3 separate regions of the Homo sapiens genome follow, and all the other regions are linked to region 1. The links are contacts of gene promoters, found by promoter capture Hi-C in human tissues and cell types (Jung and others, 2019). All regions are on one chromosome and are shown on one strand. The core of a region is centred on a gene start or on the middle of the fragment in contact, and the rest is flanking DNA. Distances in the headings are between cores, read along the strand shown.

Region 1 (2,526 bases), core at 17-2,516:
AGAACTTTAAATATGGACACCCCTCCTGCTGGTGTCTTTATATAGGGAAGCTCTGCGTGAGGTTGAAGTTTTTATGAGGAAACTTGTTTAAAACACAATCGTATTTTAAGGCGGGTTTGCCACAGCAAGGTTAGGGGTTACCAATAAATCGGTTTACAGCAACTTCTCTATTCTCTGCTCCAGACACACCAATGGGGTGACCCGTGCACAATTCCCGCTGGCCACACAAGGCAGCGGCAGTTCTAGTTGATCCTTCCTTCGTCAACTAGATCAACGAAGGCTGTCTTAGAGAGCTTCGGGTATTAAGTGAGCAGAGTCCCTTAGGCCAATTTGGCTGCCTGGGATTCCTGGGAGGATCTTGGAGAACCCAGGACACCCGAATCCCTAGTCCCTATCCTGGTTTTTGCTCTGCTGGAGAATAACAAAACATTTTGGGAACTCAGGAGTTTAATTTACTGCCACCAACCGACAAAATAATAGCATCTTTGTGTGTTCTCTCCCCTCCGTCCCTCCCACCTCCTTCCGACAGAAGCACGACGCTGGCCCTCTGTGAATGTAGCGCAGACAGCACGGGCCAGCCCGGAGCGGTCGCAGGAGGCTCCAGACCCGCGGCCCCAGGGACGCCCGGGAAATCACCGGCCCCAGAACGTCCCCCATTCCTTTTGGGAAATAAAAAGACGCAGCCGGTGAGATGCCTTCTTAGACCTTCCAGCTCATTTAGCTGATTCTGGCCCCAGAAAGTGTGTTTGTGTTTGTGTGTAGTTAAGTGAGGCAGAGAAAATCCAAGAAAGCCGCACAAGCCACCCCAAAGCGTCCACGGAAACTCCAGCTCGGTTAATTGCTCCCATATGTCCTCCTCGGCTGTGGTAAAAAAGCAGCGAGGAGGGAAGGCCGGGTCGCTTTATTGATTTTGAAGAGGCTGTAAAAAAGACTATGGCCCATCTCATTTTGGTCCCAGAGGGGCCTAGGCGCAGCCCCGGGGGACCCGGTGCCCAGAGGGATGGTAGGGTGCTTCAGGCCCGGACCTGGCGCCGAGAGGCGGGACAAGGGGACCTCGCGCCCAAGCCCCGCGGAAAGTTCGCGCTCCGCGCTCCAGCCGGTCCCTGGATCCGCCGCAGCCCGGGGCGGGGAGGGGCGCGGGAGGCGCGGCCGGGGCGGGCGCGCGAGAGGAAGGTGCCTTCGGGAACACGCGCAAGGGCGGGGATTCGCGCTGCCAATGAGGCCCCGGTGTGGGCCGAGCAAGGCGGGGGGACGGGCCGGAGCGGAGGCTTTGCTGTGGCAGCTGCTGGAGCGGCGGCCGCCTCGGGAGCCGGAGGAGAGGCAGCCGCGGAGCGCCGAGCTGGCCTCGCCCCGAGGCCCGGCCCTGGGTGTGGGGAACCGCGCTGAGGAGCTGGAAACTTTCCCGGCAGGTAACTCCCGCAGCCCGGACTCCGCCGCGGGCCTGCGAGCGCCCCGGGCATGGCCAGCTGCCAGTGTGCGGAGAGGTCGAGAGGGACCCGGGGTGGAGAGGGTGATGGGAGAAGGGAAAGGCGTGTGGGAAAGTTTCTGGAGCGCCCCCTCCTCCGCCGGGCACACCCGGGAGCTTTCCGGGAATAGGCACAGACATGTTGGGCGCCCCGGGCCTTGGTCTCTCGGCGGCTTTGGGGAGTCCGCACCTTCCTTGCGCGGTTCCCCCGCGCCGGACCGAGCCGGCCTCCCCTGGAACCGGTGTGGTGGGAACCGGGAACGCTTGGGGCACGCTCGAGTTCTGGGACCACCCCCGCCCGGCGCGCCCGCTCGCCCCCTTTCCCGCCTTCTCTGTAGCCCTCGGGCTTGGCAAGGGCCTGGGCTACGCCTGGTACCTGGCGCGGGGGAGGCGGGGGGAGGCGCGCCTGGCACCGCGGGGTCCTGGGCGCCCCCCGGAGTGTTGGGGTGCGCGGGTCGCGAAGTTGCCGAGAGAACTTAAGCCGGAGGCATGGTATTGCCCCAGTCTGGGCTGAAAGTCTATTGCTTTGCTTCCAAGAACACTGCGATTAGCATATCCACACTCCTTTATTGGGGGTGGGGGTGAGTTAGGATTAGACGTTGGGGGTTTTTCTTTAGGGGTGGGGCGCTGAGAAGAGCGGTAATTGTCAAGATTGTGAGCCCCCTTGTTCTTGGATGCAGAGTGGTCATTTTCGGGGGACGATATCAGGGCACTGGCTTCCTGGAGGACTTTGGGGTGCGGGCGCGCAGCGCTGTGGGTGTGCGGGGCTCCCGGCTTTGGCGCGGCGGCTTTCCGGAACGCCTGGCTGGGAAGGAAGCTCTAGGCATTGTGTGGTGTGTTTGCAGACAGAAAGGTCCCTGGACCGGTGTTCTCAAAACTTACTGGACTTATTGTGTAAAGCTCCGGGAGGAAATGTGGCGTTGGCCAGGTAGAAACGCGGCGCTGCGGCCAAGGGGCGGAGGACGCCAGGCTCGGCAACGGCCTTCTCCCAGCCCCCTCCTGCCAGCTCCAGATCCGCGTGCCTCCAGTGTTGGGACCGTTCTCAGTGGCGTTGTTCCCTG
Region 2 (2,526 bases), core at 20-2,519, 240 kb after region 1:
GTGAATTGAATGGGCTATTTAGCTGCGTCGTAGGCCTCCCTTTGTGTAGCGCATTGAAGCAATTCCACTTGGCATGTGTGCTCACCGTAGTTTACTGTTCACTAATTCTGGATGGAATTTTGGACAGAACCTGCTCCCTCTGGATCTTGAGCCTCAGGCAGTGCCCTGCAGCTGGGGTGGGTGTTTCCAGGCCCCTCTTGGGGGTGGGGTCCTCACACCTGTTTCCAAATTGGGCTGCGAAGCTGGGTCCTGTTGTATTTGACACTTTGATGATTTTCGTTTCCCTCTTGTTTCCATGGGACTGCTTTCCTTTCCCCTTTTGTGGCTCTTTTGGCTTCAGTCACAGGGAGGCCCCAGGCGTGGACGGTGGGCTTCCCACATCCAAGGCTGCCCCAGAGCACAGGGAGCTGGATGCCTAATTACTGTTGGTGTAAAAATGACCCGTTCTTCATTTGAATTTACCTTAGGCATTTTGGAGAGAGAAGGGGCTGTTCTTTGGTAAGAATGTAAAATAAATGTCAGGCCTACTGGATTGAGCCTTGCAGTCACATATACAGCCATCCCCCACATAATGATGTTTCTGTCAGCGATGGACTGCATGTGAGAAGGTGTTCCCATACAATACTGTGTCTTTATTTTTTCTATGTTGCTACTTTTTCTATGTTTTGTTACACAAGTACCACCGTGTTACAGCTGCCTACAGTATCCACTACAGTAACAGGCTGTACAGCTTAGCAGTTTAGGAGCAAAAGGCTGTACCATATAGTCTAGGCATGTAGTAGGCTACACCATCGAAGTTTGTGTAAGTCCACTATGTGGTATTAGCACAATGATACAATCACCTAACGACTCATTTCTCAGGATGCATCCCTGTCATTGATGATGTGTGGCCTTTCTCAGGAAGTATCCACCTCATTAGGTGATGCATGCACATCTCAGGACAGAATTTCAGGTGAGAGATTGGAAGGAAAGCGTTTGCCCATGGCTTGTTGGGGCATGTGGAGAATATGTGTTACATGGAACGCACATGGAGGATGCTGTAGAGAAAACTGCGACTTGCTGTCGTACACTGAAGATACTGGATTTTTCAGAGGTCCTGAGCATCTCACCAGTACTGGTTTTGGAAATTTTTTATCAAGGCATTCCTTCCTCTGCAAGTGTTTGTTCTAAGAAGGTTCAGTAAGATTAGTGGGCATGGAAGTCCAGACTGCTGTCAGTCAGAACTATCCTCGGCAAAGCAACACGATGGGGAGTAAGCCAGTACCCTCAAGGGTGCGTGGGAGGGACCACCCAGGATCCTGAAAGGAGCAAGATGGGGTGGGGTGACCCTGTGCCCTGTAAGGGGAGGGACAAAGTGGGGTTACCAACATGGAAGGGGTAACAGGGCTCTGGATGGAGGAGGATGTGTATGGGGGTCCTCCAAACAGTGGAGGCAGATAGGGGATCAGAACTGAGGGGGCTGGGTTTGTCCATACCCTATCCTCCTGGTCTCACAGACCCCTGGGTTTTGCCCCTGATGTGGGTGGGTTCCGGAGACCACTCCTCTCTGCGAAGAAGGCAGAGGGGTCAGGTCAGCATGTCCCCGCCCTGTAGGGCAGGCTGAGTGGCCAGCAGTGAGCAGGTAGAAACCCAGGGGTGGTGTCTCAAGCACGAACAAATTAGCCCCTTGACCACCTTCATCAAGCTGTTCTTGCTGTACAGAGTCCATTTTTCTAGTGAGTGATTCCTGAGTATTTAATAAAAAATACTTCTGCCTTCAACAGAAAAATGTATTCATTCATATTTTGGGAAGGATTACACTCCCACAGAAAAATCATCCTTGTTTCTTCTTGAAATGATATTTGGATTCTTTCTGTGTTTTGGGGGCCAGATGTGAGGTTGTGTAAAATGCTTTTGTGGAAATGCCCCCTTTTTACACTGAGACCTCATGTGGTGTCCTGGCATGTAATGAAGTCCTCAGCACAAGCTTAGCCCTTACCGAGAGGAGAGAGAGAACCTTATGCCTGCTTTAAATAACTTGGTGTGTAACCCAGCCTTCCACATGCGAACATTCTCAGCACACTTTAGAAGTGACAGCTGTCCAAAGGTCCGGTCTTCTCATGGATTCTTAGAAGAACAAAGTCTGTATGAAAGATGGCTTATGTTGTTGATCTTTTAGGAAATTATTTTTAAATTGAGGTTACATTATTTATAGCACACACATTATTCCTCAAAGGATTTGAAGAGACTTACTTGAAATGATGCAGATAAGAACTTTAAAACACTAAGTCAGGAATAGGACATGAGGAACCGCTCAAACATTCGTGCCATGGCATACTAAATTGAGCTACTACTGTGGCTGTGGAATGCCATGTGGCCAGAATTAGAGGGGAACACAATCCTTGTAAACCATTTTTATTGTCCATGGGAGAAATCGCAGCAGTTCCTCAGAAAAAGAGAAGCACTTTCTGGTACTTTCATTCTAAACAACTCTCATAGAAGGCTGTTGGATGCTTTAGATATTTTTAAAGGTGACTTCCTGGAGGC
Region 3 (2,526 bases), core at 11-2,510, 170 kb after region 1:
ATGGGCTACAAATACAGGACCAGACATTTCGGTTTCGCCTGAAATTAAGAAGCAGGGTATGTTTTCATTTTTGTTAAGTGTCTCGGGAGCAGGTGTAGTTCACGTCTGTGGGTGCATGGTCTTGCCTGAAGATAGCCATGATGTTGGTGGATGCCGCAGCAGGGTGAGCTTTCTCTTGGTTGATGAGGAGAGGTGGCTGCCTAACAAAGTCGAACAGGACAATTAGTATAGAATGGTATGTTTTGTAATCCCCATGGAGTCCCTTAAATTTCAATGGGGTTAATTAAGTCTGCCATGTCAAAGTGTAAATTTTATCCAGATCACTGAACCCAAAGGAAATGATAGAGCCGACTAAAACTAATTGAGTTTGAGTGTTAACCCAGGTGTGTACAGATACATGATGGGCAAACCCTCATTTTTAGGGTTTAATATCAGCATCATCACTTAAGTTTTACTTTAAAATGTGGTCTTCTGTTATCTATATTTCCCTTGGACATTCTTGTTTAAGTTTCTAAGACGCTTTTCTGGGTGCTGTCAATAATAGCATGCCAGTATTCACCAGACTAACAGACTCCACTGAAAACAGCTCTTTGTGAAGTGCTTTTGAAATTTCCCATGGACTCGTGAAATAGCAGGTTATTCCTAAATGCTTGAAATACTTTCCTGCCTCACTTTTGCTTTGGTCATGTAGCTCCATCAACTCTTGATTCTTAGCTCTCTGTTTGGATTTTAAATCAAAGGAAAACAAACCAAAGAACATTTTGAATTTGCTTATTTATAAGTAATTGCATTTATGTGTGATGCACGTTTTAGCCTTCTGGGAAGTGTGGGTTCGATGATGTAAGAAGATGAATTTTTTTTTGTAAGCAAATAACTTGTTTCTTAAAGCTTGCAAGCTGGGGACTGTAGCTCACACCTGTAATTCCAGTGATTCAGGGGGCCGAGGTGGGAGGATTGCTTGAGACTGGGAGTTTGAGAACAGCCTGAGCAGCATAGTGAGACCTTGTCTCTTTAAAAAAGAAAGGAAGGAAAGGAAGGAGTTTGCACTCACCTGGAAACATCTTTAGGAAAAAACATTCTATCTTAGTATGTTTAAATATATTTGAAACACAGCATTTTCTACTCTAGGAAAAACGGATGACTTAATAAAATCATCAAACAAAATACAAAGCCCATTTTCATGTCAAATGGTCCTAATAAGCTGTGTGTCAGGTAGAATAAGTTCTTAATGAGTAAGCTTCCTATTGCTAAATCAACATATCGTTTAGGGGAAAGCTCATTTACCCACAAACAATATCTGCGTTAAGGGAAAAAAAACCTTCAGATAAATTAGAGATGATTGTTATAACAGGATCCACGCTTTATTTCTTTGATTTAGGGGTAACCATAATTTATTTAGGTTTGCATTAATATATTTCTAGCTACTAGGGCAAGTTTTGAGGAGGGGCTAGAAAGTTTTTAGTCTCATAAGTCATTGCTCTGTGAAGATCAATCTCAAAATATGATGAAACTTTTTTTAAATGATATCTTCATGTCAGTCAGTGACGAAACTTTTTTCCTGGCAGTCTGACTAAGCAAATAAAGCTAACACATATGAAAGAGCAGAATAATTCAATGTGAAACTATCTTCTGGGAGGAGAGGGTCTTTAGTTATATGCTTAAGTAAATATTTTGATACCTTATGTTTTTTATTACCATTTTAGATGGTCAGACAGGTATAGAGGATTAAAGAGGTATAAAGCATAAAGGGGCTGGGTGTGGTGGCTCGCCCTTATAATCCCAGCACTTTGGGAGGCCAAGGCAGGAGAATTGCTTGAGCCTAGGAGTTTGATACCAGCCTGGACAATGTAGCAAGGCCTCATATCAACAAAAAGTCAAAAAATTAGCCAGATATAGCAGTGCACCTCTCTGGTCCCAGCTACTCAGGATGCTGAGGTGGGAGGATTCTTTAGCCAGGGAGGTGGAAGCTGCAGTGAGCCATGATCACACCATTACACTGCAGCCTGGGAGACAGAGTGAGACCCTGTCTCAAAAAAAAAAAAGTGAAAAAAAGAATATGATTGAAAAAAATGCATAGTCATGTTTTATTTCTTAAAACCCTTTCTTTCCCAAGAGGTAACCTTGATCCTGCTTTAATTTTCAGCTTCTTAGAATGGCAGTGCAACATTCAACCAATGGTTGAATGAGGTTTTATTTGATGGAAGTATAGAAAAGGGGCATACCTGGTATGTGTGCACAGAAGAGAGACTCTTGGAAGTAGAGTATCCATTCATTCTGCATTTCCTTGAATAAGTATTCAGTTTCTATGCTGTGAAAAAACACTATGCTAAATGCTATTTGAGATGGGTTATCAAGCATGGGTCCTGTCTTTATGGAGCCTTAGAGTCTGGCAGGGGATTAGAGACCTGTATATGGCGTGACTGTAATAAAGGAGGAAGTAATGACTAATCCAAGCTGTGTGATGAACTAGGAGTTCAGCAGATGGAGATTCTCTATTTTTTTTTTTTTTTTTTTTTGAGATGGAGC

What was found. Contacts are between HindIII fragments. The study calls those that stand out against the background at their distance.
Region 2: a fragment that was not itself captured here is called in contact with the fragment with the promoter of TANC1 in region 1 in 1 of the 25 tissues and cell types used here (IMR-90 fibroblasts).
Region 3: a fragment that was not itself captured here is called in contact with the fragment with the promoter of TANC1 in region 1 in 1 of the 25 tissues and cell types used here (bladder).

The regions. Positions count from the first base shown.
Region 1 is chr2:158,967,374-158,969,899 of GRCh38, forward strand. TANC1 (tetratricopeptide repeat, ankyrin repeat and coiled-coil containing 1) reads left to right here and starts at 1,267. Exons shown (of 27, transcript NM_033394.3): 1 at 1,267-1,409. RefSeq lists silencers at 1,053-1,162, 1,223-1,302. The HindIII fragment of the contact is 16,038 bases long and covers 1-2,526 here.
Region 2 is chr2:159,204,866-159,207,391 of GRCh38, forward strand. The region is part of intron 19 of TANC1 (tetratricopeptide repeat, ankyrin repeat and coiled-coil containing 1); the gene reads left to right. Among named protein-coding and RNA genes, the nearest start is that of MIR6888, 19 kb to the left of the region's middle. The HindIII fragment of the contact is 3,711 bases long and covers 1-2,526 here.
Region 3 is chr2:159,138,192-159,140,717 of GRCh38, forward strand. The region is part of intron 5 of TANC1 (tetratricopeptide repeat, ankyrin repeat and coiled-coil containing 1); the gene reads left to right. Among named protein-coding and RNA genes, the nearest start is that of MIR6888, 47 kb to the right of the region's middle. RefSeq lists an enhancer at 1,514-1,683. The HindIII fragment of the contact is 4,580 bases long and covers 1-2,526 here.